3 separate regions of the Homo sapiens genome follow, and all the other regions are linked to region 3. Evidence: promoter capture Hi-C in 16 types of primary human blood cells and fetal thymus (Javierre and others, 2016). All regions are on one chromosome and are shown on one strand. The core of a region is centred on a gene start or on the middle of the fragment in contact, and the rest is flanking DNA. Distances in the headings are between cores, read along the strand shown. Region 1 has its middle 12 kb from the start of KRTAP22-2. Region 2 has its middle 27 kb from the start of KRTAP20-3. Region 3 holds the start of KRTAP20-1 (keratin associated protein 20-1).

Evidence for each region. The method cuts DNA at HindIII sites, captures the fragments that hold promoters and counts their contacts. A CHiCAGO score of 5 or more calls a contact.
Region 1: a fragment that was not itself captured here is called in contact with the fragment with the promoter of KRTAP20-1 in region 3 in 1 of 17 cell types (neutrophils); the score reaches 5.5 in neutrophils.
Region 2: a contact is called between a fragment that was not itself captured here and the fragment with the promoter of KRTAP20-1 in region 3, in 1 of 17 cell types (neutrophils). The highest score is 5.2, in neutrophils.

The regions. Positions count from the first base shown.
Region 1 is chr21:30,576,084-30,580,246 of GRCh38, forward strand. No RefSeq gene overlaps it. Among named protein-coding and RNA genes, the nearest start is that of KRTAP22-2, 12 kb to the right of the region's middle. The HindIII fragment of the contact is 4,000 bases long and covers 1-3,289 here.
Region 2 is chr21:30,667,743-30,672,023 of GRCh38, forward strand. No RefSeq gene overlaps it. Among named protein-coding and RNA genes, the nearest start is that of KRTAP20-3, 27 kb to the left of the region's middle. The HindIII fragment of the contact is 8,660 bases long and covers 1-4,281 here.
Region 3 is chr21:30,614,436-30,618,698 of GRCh38, forward strand. KRTAP20-1 (keratin associated protein 20-1) reads left to right here and starts at 1,990. Exons shown (of 1, transcript NM_181615.2): 1 at 1,990-2,264. The coding sequence starts at 2,020. The coding sequence ends at 2,190. The HindIII fragment of the contact is 4,063 bases long and covers 776-4,263 here.

The sequences.
Region 1 (4,163 bases), core at 40-2,539, 39 kb before region 3:
AACTAACACTTGTTGAGTACAGTTTTATTTCTTATATCATTAAAACATCACACAATCCAAAGAGAGAAATATATCCTCACTTTTACAAATTAAAAAACTGAGGCAAAAAGAAGTCGAGTAATTGGCTAAAAGTCATATGAAAAGTAAGGAGAACAGTGATGGTCCAAACTCAGACCTACCCAGCTATGTGACGGTAGCATCGCTTTATAAAAATTCATTTTTTATCTGTTCCTTTTAACTTAAAAAATGCCTACTACCATACATATCACTTGTCCTTTCCTTGGAAAAATCAAGGGTTAAAATATTTGATGTTTTCTCAGCACACCTCTTTAGAGCAGACATGAACACAATGTGCCTTGAAATTTACTCCACTCACCATTTAGAAAGATGGAAATTGGAGTGATACCAGATTTTTTTTCTAACCTATCCTATAAAGACACACTAAAAATCACCTTCTAATAAGGGAATACCACACTGGGCATGAGTAAACAGGGATTACAACAAGCTGACCAGCTATAAACCATGAGACATACTGCATGGTTTTTCAGATCTTCTGCAAATAAGCTGAAGAACGACAGTCAAAAGGATGTGAAGTACAAAACACGAATTATGGCTGCAGGGAAGCTCAACATGAGATGATGCAGCGAACATACAGTCTGACTGAAAAGGCCAAAAGCCAGGGTATGTAAGGAAAATAAAGCTACTGTTTTGGATAATAGCATTGGTTGTGCTGTGACTAAAATGACTAAATGAGATTGAAAATCTACCATGATTAAAATTAATTAATATAAATTATTGCAGTACCATGGAGGACCTGGTTCTTAACAATGCACACTCTGTGGAAGAAAGCATTCATTCATGTATTGGTATTTTTAGCTGACATATAATATCCATATATATTTTGTTTGTTTGTTTGTTTGTTTGTTTGAGATGGGTTCTCACTCTGTCACCCAGGTTGGAGTGCAGTGGTGCGATCTTGGCTCACTGCAACCTCTGCCTCCCAGGCTCAAGTGATCCTCCCACCTCAGCCTCCTGAGTAGCTGGGACCACATGCATGAGCCACCGTGCCCGGCCAATTTTTTGTATTTTTGGTAGAGACAGGGTTTTGCCATGTTTCCCAGCTGGTCTCAGACTCCTGAGCGCAGGCAAGCAACCTGCCTCAGCCTCCCAAAATGCTGGGATTACAGGCATGAGCCACCGCACCCAGCCTATATATTTATAATTTGTAATTGATGTGTTAATTCATTATTTGGGAGTTAACAAACTCAGGAGCCAGAACACTGTTAACAGGGACTCTGCTAAGTGCTGAGAATACAAACATATATCAGGCAAGAACAAAGGCTTCAATAATTCGTAATTATGATTTATACTTCCTGCTTTGTACATTTGTGCCTTTATGTACACAGTTTTCTCCACCTGAAATGACCTTCCATCTTGACTTCATCTGGCTACTTCATCATTGTCATAGAAAACCCCCCTTATTTGTCTCTGCACCCTGAATGAGTCACCTTATCCTCTATCTCTTGTCCATATTTTATGTTTCCATAACACCCCTGTGGTCTTTCCTCTCACAGCGCTTACCTGTAATGTAGACTCACCTGTCTACTAACTTACTAAACTATAAGCTCTTTCATGGTAGGGATTATGTCTTGTTTCTCTTTTTATAATAGATGCTCAGTTTACACCATGTGTGTAAATGAATGAATGAATAAATCTTATTGGGATAGATCTAAAATAAATGGTAAAAAAACAAAGTCTATGTCTTATAATTAAGTAAGGGAAGAGTTCTGTGGGCAATGAGTGAAGAGATCATCTGGGTCTGCCTGACATGACTAAGTAGGTTCTGTGGGAGGCAGGCAAAGAAACACTTCTCAGATAATGCAGTGCTCCAGTGAAGACTTCACAGTTGACTCAGCTATAGCTCATCAGGCAGAATAGATTTTCTCATAGATGTTGTGAGTTATCCACAGATAAGAAGGACTGAGAATGCATGCCATGGTCAGCAAATTTTTAGTAGAAAAAACAGGATAAAATGACTGTTGGTATATGAAGGAGAAGCAGAAAATGACACCAGACTCTGATATGGTTTGGCTCTGTGTCCCCACCCAATTCTCATCTCAAGTTGTAATCCCCGCGAGTCCAGGAAGGAACTTGGTGGGAAGTAGGTAGATATGGGGGCGGTATCCCCCACGCTGTTTTCATGAGAGTGAGGGAGTTCTCATGAGATCTAATGGTTTAAAAGTGGCAGTTTCCCCTGTGCTCTCTCTTTCCTGCTGCCATGTAAGATGTGCCTTGCTTTCCCTTCACCTTCTGCCATGATTATAAGTTTCCTGAGGCCTCGTCAGCCATGCAGAACTGTGAGTTATATGGTTTCTGTGTTATATAGTTTCTATATAGTTATATAGAACGGTGAGGATATAGTTTCTTCTGAGACTAAGAAGCCAGCTCTTACCTTTACAGATTACCCAATCTTGGGCAGTTCTTTATAGCAGTGTGAAAACAGACTAATACAAACACTAACCCAGACTGGATCATGAAGGAGTCTTATGCCCTGCTTATAAGGTCAGATTTTGTGCATTAATTGATGGAGCCAAAGAGCAAGGACAGACCTCCCGCTGACAGCAGGAAAACAGTCTTTCAGGTAGACTAGTAAGAAGCACCAAAAATGCAAGAGAACCAAAGTAAGAAAAGCATATAACAGAAGCCAAGGAATGAAGTGGCCGTTAGTGCCAAATGACACTAGGAGGGCAAACATGAGATATCAAAAAGACTGAGTAATTAGTGGGCCATTGGTGACCTAAATGAGAACAATCCTTGGGTTACAGTGAGAGGAAGAGACAAGTTAGAGTGTATTGAAGACTGAATGAGAAGCATCAGAGAAAACTATATCAAACCTTAGATTTAAAGAAGGTTAGAGAAAGCTAGCCAGGAGTGATCTGGTGTTGAGACAGGCTTTTTTAATATCAAAAGACTTGAGCATGTTTATAGACTGACTGTAAGGTGTCAGTGGAAAAAAAAAGAAGCTAAAATATAGTAGACAGAGAGGAAAATTTATCAAGCAAGGCGTTGAAGGAGATGGCATTTAAAGCAAAAGTGGAAGAATGATTTTTCTGAAGAGGAGAGAGGATATAGTTTCTTCTGAGACTAAGATAAAAGGCTAAAAGACAGGTGCAAATGTAGATAAGTGTGTGGGAAGAGAGTTGATAGAGTTTTCCCGTGATAGATTCTCCTTTCTCCATGAAAAAGAGGCAATTGTTACAAGCAGAAGGAGGAGCAGAAGGCAGAAGTAAGCTTTGAACAAGGGGCTTTAGAGATAATAGTGAAGGGGTGGAGTAGCTGCACTGAAAGCAAGAAAGAAAGAGTCCTGAAAACAAGTGAAAGGATTCCCAAATAGCACCAAGGACTCAGTCAAAACAAGAATCCTGTAAATGCATGGTGGCAACATTCCATGAGGTTCTGGGATTTCCTCCAATAGCAGCGAGGAGCCTGAGTTTGGAGGAGAGAAGCCTTGGATTAATGCACAGATGAAGGTTTGCAGCATAGGGGAATAGGAAGAGGAGATAATTTGCTGAAAGAGGTGTGATTGATGAGACAAATAGGATAGATCAAGGGCCATATAGTTTATGGTTTAAACTGGACATGAGTGGTGCACTATTAAAAATAATGTCAGGACAGTAGATATAAACCAAAGGACACATAGGAAATTAAGTGAAGAACATGACAGATTAAAAGAGGTGTCGGATAAGGAACAATCAATCTATATTATTTCAATAAAATGGCATGGCTATAATAGAGGTGTGAAGAACTGGGACAATTGAGATTTACTGACTTGGGTTTCATTTTTAGAAAAAGAGAACCGTCTGATATTAAGTATGGCTCAGGGAATGACTTGCTAAAGTAGAACAGAGGTGATGAGATTGAGGAATTTTGAGGCCAGAGTGCTTAAATTGGTTGTCTACCTGATAATTTGATGAACTAAATGTAAGAATAGAATTTGGAGCCCGGTGCGATAGTCTTTGAAGTATGTAAGTTAGAGACTGTGATGGTGGTATAGTAGATGGCAGTTACTGGAAACCGTGATAAGGTGCTGGATCAAATAAAGTAAATATATAAGGTACCTAAAAGAAAAGCCTGATAGTGCCCAATGAGCAGGAAGTCGTCTT
Region 2 (4,281 bases), core at 268-2,767, 53 kb after region 3:
TCTGTATAATTCCTAATAGCTGGTTTTACTAAATTTTCATTTATTTATTGGTAAAGTGGTGATAATATGCCATCTTCACTGAGTTTTTGTGAAAAATAAATAGGTTAGTACCTGTAAGATGCTTAGTAGACTGGCTGGCACATAACAGCACTCAGTAAAGATCATATACATCTATGTTTATCTTCCCACAAAGTAATAAGCTAAAGATAATTAAATTATCTATTAATCAGAGTTCACAAAAAAAATAATTTTAAATGATCCAGGTATATGATTTGCCTGTGCCTCCACCCAAATCTTAATTGTAACTTTTATATTTCCCACATGTCATGGGGAAAAGCCGGTGGGAGGTGATTGAATTATGGGGGCAGGTCTTTCCTGCACTGCTCTCATGACCAGTGAATGCGTCCCATGAAATATGATGGTTTTAAAAATGGGAGTTTCCCTGCACAAACTCTCTTCCCTTGTCTGCTGCCATGTGAGACATGCCTTTTACCTTCCACCATGATTGTGAGGTCTCCCCAGCCACATGGAACTGTAAGTACAATTAAAACCTATTTTTCTTCCCAGTCTCAGGTATGTCTTTATCAGCAGTGTGAAAACAAACTAATAGAGTAAATTGGTACCAGTAAAGTGAGGTGCTGCTAAAGATACCTGATAGTGTGGAAGCAACTTTGGAACTGGGTAACAGGCAGGGGTTGGAACAGTCAGGAGGGATCAGAAGAAGACAGGAAAAATGTGGGAAAGTCAGAAACTTCCTAGAGATGTGTTGAATGGCTTTGACAAAGATGATGCTGATAGTGATATGGAAAATAGCATCCAGGTCGGGGTGGTCTCAGATGGAGATAAGGAACTTGCTGGGAATTGGAGCAGAGGTGACCCTTCTTATGTTTTACAAAGAGACTGGCAGCATTTTGACCCTGCCCTAGAGATCTGTGGAACTTTGAACTTGAGAGAGATGCTTTAGGGTAACTGTCAGAAGACATTTCTAAGCAGCAAAGCATTCAAGATGTGACTTGGGTGCTCTTAAAGACATTCAGTTTTAAAAGGGAAGCAGAGCATAAAAGTTTGGAAAATTTGCAGCCTGACAATGAAATAGAAAAGAAAATCCCATTTTCCAAGGAGAAATTCAAGCTGGCTGCAGAAATTTGCATAAGTAGCAATGAGCTGAATGTTAATCCCCAAGACAATGGGGAAAACATCTCCAGAGCATGTCAAAGGCCTTCACGGCAGCTCCTCCCATCACAGGCCCAGAGGCCTAGGAAGAAAAAGGTGATTTACTGGGCCAAGCCCAGTGTCTCTGTGCTGTGTGCAACCTAGGGACTTGGTTCCCTGTGTCCAAGCCACTCTAGCCATGGCTGAAAGGGGCCAATACAGAGCTCAGGCCATGACTTCACAGGGAGCAAGCCTCAAGCCTTGGCAGCTTCCTGGGGCTGTGAAGCCTACCAGTGCACGGAAATCAAGAATTGAGGTTTGGGAACCTATGCCTGGATTGCTGAGCATGTATGGAAATGCCTGGATGTACAGGCAGAAGTTTGTTGCAGGGTCAGGGCACTCATGGAGAACCTCTGCTAAGGCAATATGAAAGGGAAATGTGGGGCCAGAGCCCCCACACAGAGTCCCTACTGGGGCACCACTGAGTGGAGCTGTGAGAAGAGGGCCAATGTCCTCCAGACCCCAGAATGGTAGATCCACAGACAGCTTGCACCATGTACCTGGAAAAGCTGCAGACACTAAATGCCAGCCCATGGAAGCAGCCAGGAGGGAGGCTGTACCCTGCAAAGCCACAGGGGCAGTGCTGCCCAAGACCATGGAAACCCACCTCTTGCATCAGCAAGACCTGGATGTGAGACATGGAGTCAATGGAGATCATCCTGGAGCTTTAAGATTTAACTGCCTTGCTGGATTTTGGACTTGCGTGGGGCCTGTAGCCCCTTTGTTTTGGCCAATTTCTCCTATTTGGTATGGCTATATTTACCCAGTGCCTGTACCCCCATTGTGTCTAGGAATTAACTAACTTGCTTTTGATTTTACAGGCTCATAGGTGGAAGGGACTTGCCTTGTCTCAGATGAGATTGGAATGTGGACTTTTAAGTTAATGCTGAAATGAGTTAAGACTTTGGGGTACTGTTGGGAAGGCATTATTGGTTTTGGAATGTGAAGACATGGAATTTTGGAGGGGCCAGGGGCAGAATCATAAGGTCTGGCTCTGTCCTCACCCAAATATCATCTTGAATTGTAACTCACACAATTCCCACGTGTCATGGGAAGAAGCCGGTGGGAGGTGATTGAATTATGGGTGCGGGTCTTTCCTGTGTTGCTCTTGTGATAGTGAATGAGTCTCATGAGATCTGATGGTTTTAAAAACAGGAGTTTCCCTGCACAACTCTCTTCTCTTGTCTGCCACCATGTGAGATGTGCCTTTTACATTCCACCATGATTACAAGGCCTCTCCAGCCACATGGAACTCTAAGTCCATTAAAACCTCTTTTTCTTTCCAATCTCAGGTATGTCTTTATCAGCAGAATGAAAACAGACTAATACACCAGGAAAAATGTAACTCAAATTATAATGTGTCTTATATGTTTCTTAGAATTTTCTGTTTTATCTAACTATACATATCCCTCTGCAGTATTCTAAAAAACCAGACCTATTTAATTGAAAAGTACAGTCCTATAACTGGATACTCAGTATCACTGAAATAAATGAATAAATTTTAACTGGTAATTGAAAAAGAATTATTAGTTGCAGCTCATGATGATGATGATGACTATGATGAAATCAGAAATTTCCACATGATCTAATGATTGTCACTGAATTACTGGCACAGCTAATATATATCATCTCAAGAAACCTGTACCCTTTCCTTATTACAGTGTTCCATTCACTGTAATAGAGCTTCCCAGGAACAGGCTATTCAGTACGTATGTGCTGGACTTCTCAAGCATCTACTTTCATGAGCCATTTAATCTGTCCTACTATGCCACAGAGAGCTTAGCACACGTGAAACTACTTGAGGGGGAAAAAGACGCAATTTCTATGAGCATATCAAATTCCACCCAAACTGACATTGGCAGATCATAGCGCACTACAGAAACAGATAGTATGGGCACCAAACCCAGAATAAGAATCTGTGATATTTGTTAGAAAACAGGACACATAAGCTAACTTTTCAATGATGAGCAGGAGTTAGCCAACATATTAGTCTATTATGTTGCTGATAAAGACATACCCAAGACTGGGAAATTTACAAAAGAGGTTTAATAGACTTACAGTTCCTCATGGCTGGGGAGGCCTCACTATCATGGCAGGAAGGCAAGGAGGAGCAATTCATGTCTTACATGTATGGCAGCAGGCAAAGAGAGAGCTTGTGCAGGGAAATTCCCATTTTTAAAACAATCAGATCTCATGAAACTCATTCACTATCACAAGAACAGCACAGGAAAGACCCACACCTATAATTCAATCACCTCCCACAGGGTTCCTCCCATGACACCTGGGAATTGTGGGAGTTACAATTCAAGATGAAATTTGGGTGGGGGCACAGCCAGACCATATCATTCCACCCTGGACCCTCCCAAATCTCATGTACTCACATTTCAAAACCAATCGTGCCTTCCCAACAGTCCCCCAAAGTCTTAACCCATTTCAGCATTAACTCAAAAGTCCACAATCCAATATCTTATCTGAGACAAGACAAGCCCCTTCCACCTATGAGCCTGGATAATCTGAAGCAATAAAACTTCATCAACCACTGCAGTTCCTTTATGTGACATGAAAACAGATCCCTGTGGGAATTACAGGGTCCCATAAAATATAAAAGACTATAAAGTTTTTGATGTGTGTTAATGAAACGAAATGTCTGGTTTGCTTACCTAGGTAAGTTTATTAGGAAACTGATTTAGATTCACTCGCTCACAGATATAACAAAACATAAATGATATAACTAACACAACTAGGGGGTTATAAAAACCAACTTTACTTATTTGAGAGTAGGTTTTTCAGGCAGTCTGATTTCAAAGTATCTCAGGGTGGAAGACTATGGTTGTGGACTCTGCTCCTTAACTGCTAAGGTGAGGACAAGAGAAAGGGAAGCTGTAAGAAATATTAAAGCATCAACTATATTGCAGAAGTTTTACATCAGAGTACATCATAATCTGGAAATATAAGAAGCTACATAACTAATAAGGTAGAAAATGATTGCTTACCTTGTCAAGAAATATGGATGCCACTGTAACTACAGTTGGAGGCATAACCACAACCAGGTCACCAAAGATTCCATGG
Region 3 (4,263 bases), core at 740-3,239:
TGTCACTCAGCTTCCAGAGACTGTTGACACAAAGCCAATAGTTTGAAATTCTAAAATACCAGGCATGAGAAAACTATACTTTTCTTTCTCACATCAATATTTCCTTTTGTGACTGTTTTAAAACAATAGTTCTTTCCCATAGTTTCAAATTCGTAATCAATGAGGTTTCATTTTATTTATAAAATTGTATTTTTATAAAAATTTTCCTGAAATTTCAAGGCATTTGTTATATTTGTGTTCTGGCTCAAAAGTAAGTATAGGTATTTTCATATTTAAAACAATAATACTGGCAGAAGTATCTTTTCATGCAACCTACTATATTTCCACCATCAAACAAGAAGTCTTTGGCAAAATATGAGACTATGAGGAACATGTTACTATAGCCTAATCTTTTTTCAAAGCAGTGAAGATCAGAGCTAAATTGAATGATTAAGTCAAGTAGCCCTCTGGACTTATATTCTTAGTAAGATGACTTTATAAGAGTGAGTTGAATATAGTAAATAAGAGTAAAATATCTGTAATGTGCTTTCTAGGCTCAAATTTTACCTCTACTATCCATAGCTGTCTGACCACTGTTAACTACATGCTTCAGCTGCCCTATCTGCAAATGGGATTGTAATAATGATACCTACCCCACAAGGAAATTTAGAAAATCAAATCTTTTGATACATACCAGACACTTTGAATAGTGTTTGGTTCATAGTAGGAACCAGAATACTAGAATAAATTTTGCTGTCTTTACTTATTTCATCCCATCCCTGTTTTTCTGGATAGAAGCTTCAGTAGAGAGTTGATCAATTGAATAAGAGAACTCAGGCATGCTTAAGTTCTCATTTAGGGGCATTATGTCCTTGAAGCTGAAGGGAAGAGAAACTCTGCATTGAGGATGTACATCTAACAACAGAGAAAGTCACATCCTGGTTTTACTGAGAAGGGGAAAGTCCTACCAAGTTCCCCAACACACATAGCACAAGCAGGGGGAGATACAATGATTGGTTCTCACCCAGGTGGATCTGAGTGGAGACTCATTGATTTCCTTACTACAACCAAAGACTGTTCTGGCTGTAGAGACCCAAGGATGTAACACTTCATGCTAGGTAATGGATTGAACAGAGTTTTATTTTTGTGGCAGTGGAAAATGGCAATATGTGTTATGCCATCCAAAGGTGTCAGTGCAGAACAGGTATGGTCCTCCTCAAAACCAACAGCATATCACTGCACATCGAAGCACACCTCAGGCAGAGAATGAGGAGTGGTAATGTCTTTATTGCAATTGTATTTTAATACTGACAACCAGAAAGTGATTGAATTTTGTTGAGTTTACCTGAAAGGGACAAGAATAAATGTTTTGCCATTTAGTGGAAATAATGAATCAAGATAGAATTTGGTATAACAGTAAAATAAAGTGCATTTGTACGTTTGTAAAGTTGTATCCTGTAAAAATGTTACCTGACTTATGTATTTAAAGTGAAATAAACTGTTCTATCTCTGAAGAAATATTGGGCAATATTACAGATCTCATACTCGAAAGACTTGCCCCTTAGGCACATCTGTCTCCCCAAAGCCATGCAGACAGACTTCTTCAACTGCAACTGGTAGATGAATGTAAAGGAATTAACAAGCCAAAACCAATTTGAATCAGATGAGATTTGCATAGTTTCTGTTATTTCATAGAATCTCATCATGAAATTTTAGTATGTGCTCTCAGGAAAAAAGGATGTTAAAACCAGGTTAAAAAAAATCTGTCATTCAAATCACATTCTTTGATTGTGAAAATCTTGACACAACACTAGAGGAATCCTAGCTATGAAGGCTTCACTATGCCTAATGAAATAAGAGATTTATGAGAGTGTTGCCTTGGCGGTGTTAGCGGTCAACCCAAAATAATTCATAATAAGAGCAACATTGCCTGTGATTTGCCACACCTACTACTGAGGAAGTATAAAAGACCTGTGAAGATGGAGATGTTCAAATTCAAGAACATCCTCTTCTACACCTGAACCATCCATTTCTGACACCATGATTTACTACAGCAACTATTATGGTGGCTATGGGTATGGTGGGCTTGGCTGTGGCTATGGCTGTGGTTATCGTGGCTATGGATGTGGTTATGGTGGCTATGGAGGCTATGGAAATGGCTACTACTGCCCATCTTGCTATGGAAGATATTGGTCATATGGTTTCTACTGAACAATTCTAGAGCTCACCAGATTTGTCTGCTTGTGAAACCTGGATTCTCATGCTGCTCTTGTTCATCTGATCCTGTGTCTTCAAAACAGCAGAAACCTAAACTAGGCTATTATCAAAGAACTACAGATGCTGTCTTTCTCTGGTTCTGTTGTGCAAGATGATAAAGAATAGGTTTTAAAATGCAATTCTTTGATTCTTAAGTCCTTTAAATAAATTTAGTCTGTTTGCAAATATAGTGTGTTTTCATGTTTATTATTTTCATTGTCAACTTTGCATGTGGATGATGGTAAGATGGAAACCTGTGGATAATTACTATCCCAAGGGGTTGACACTACATCTTATTTCATTTTCCTATTTTTTGTCCTTCTGTATATTTCTCACACTATTTAAAACTGAGCTTCTGTAGGGACACAGTTGATTGCTTTCTCTTCAAATAATTTCTACTTGAGCTTGACAAGCTACACACCTAAGGCTGGTGGCTGCATGCTGCTGACTGTCCTTGTTTCTCCAGAGCACATAGAAACACATACACATTTTAAGTTGTGGCTTCCATGAGTTTTCCAAGTTGTCTGCCTTCTGGTAGCTTCATCACTATGAAGCCTCTCAGTTGCCTGATGTTGTTGATATAGATCCTGTATACAGGAAGTGCTGTGCCATGTCTGGGAACCTGGATGTCTTTATAGGAAATCTCTTTATGATAGGCGATTTTGATAATGAAGTTCATTTCATATTTCATTGCATTCATGCAACAGCTCCTAAAGTATTCTAGGCATGCTGCTATATTGGGAGAGAGCATCTTTTCATGAATATTCAAGATTATTTCTGTTGTAATATTACTAAATTTTATCTAGTTGTATACTTTATAAAACTGGTATTTGTGTACTATTAGAATATTCTAATTGGGTTTTACATTTTTTCCAAACGGAAGAGTTTTAGTGAATTTTTACCACATGGTATGAAAATCAAACTTCTCAATTAATCTGTAAAAATAAACTATTGACATTAAGGAAACTATATTAGGGAAATTTAAAAAACAAGTTATACAACTAGATAATGGGATTAAAAGTTTGTATCATGATTTAATGAATACAGCAAACAATATATCTTTTCCAGTAATTAGAATAAAATGAATCTAGAAACAGAACTCCAAATCTATGCATTGCCAGTTCTTAAAATTTTCTAAAATATCAAAACATACCTAAAATAATATATTTACTATTATACATATTGTATATGTGTTATTGCTAATGATTATTAGCAATAACACATGTATAAAATTTATAAATAAATGGTTGAATTGAAATTGGGAATGCAGGTTCAAAATATTTACAGTATGGTTTTCTCATCTCACAAGTTTGAAGATCTCTGCTCTCGACCAAATTTTCTCAAGGTGTGGTCTAGGGACGCATGTGGGAACCAAAGACCCTTTTGAGGTCTCGATAAGGGCAAAATTATTTTCATAATACATTTTTCATTTTTACTGCCATACATTCATGAATGAACGGTGGAATTTTCCAGATATATGCATGTTATCACAACAGACTAAAAGCTAAATCAGATATGAGAAACTGTCTTCCATTAAGCGAGACATTAAAGAGATTGACCAAACATGTAAAACATTCCACTATTCCTAAGAAGTTTTTGCTCTAAAAAAATTATGTTTCTAAAAATATGAAATTATGACTGTTATTTTGAAATTGATTAACTCATATTTTAAAATCATCAATTTTAATTTTAAAAAGATGAATATCAGTAAATATAACACATAAAGAATGGCTTTTCAAGATCCTCAGTAAGTTCTTTTATGATCGAAGAGTTTTAAAATCATTACTCCAAACAAACTAATCCTATCCACCATTATTTCTTGGTGGTACGTTACTTGAGACAGAAGCATGCCTGAAATATTTTGGTTTAAATCCTCAAATATGGGAGTTATTTAATTAGGAAATAACACTATGCTCTTTGACTCTCTGTGTGTTGGTTTTAAAAAGTATGGTTCAAATAATAGATACATATTCCAACAAGAATTTTAAAAGAAAAGTGACAAAGTCTTCAATATCTCAAATATAAGAA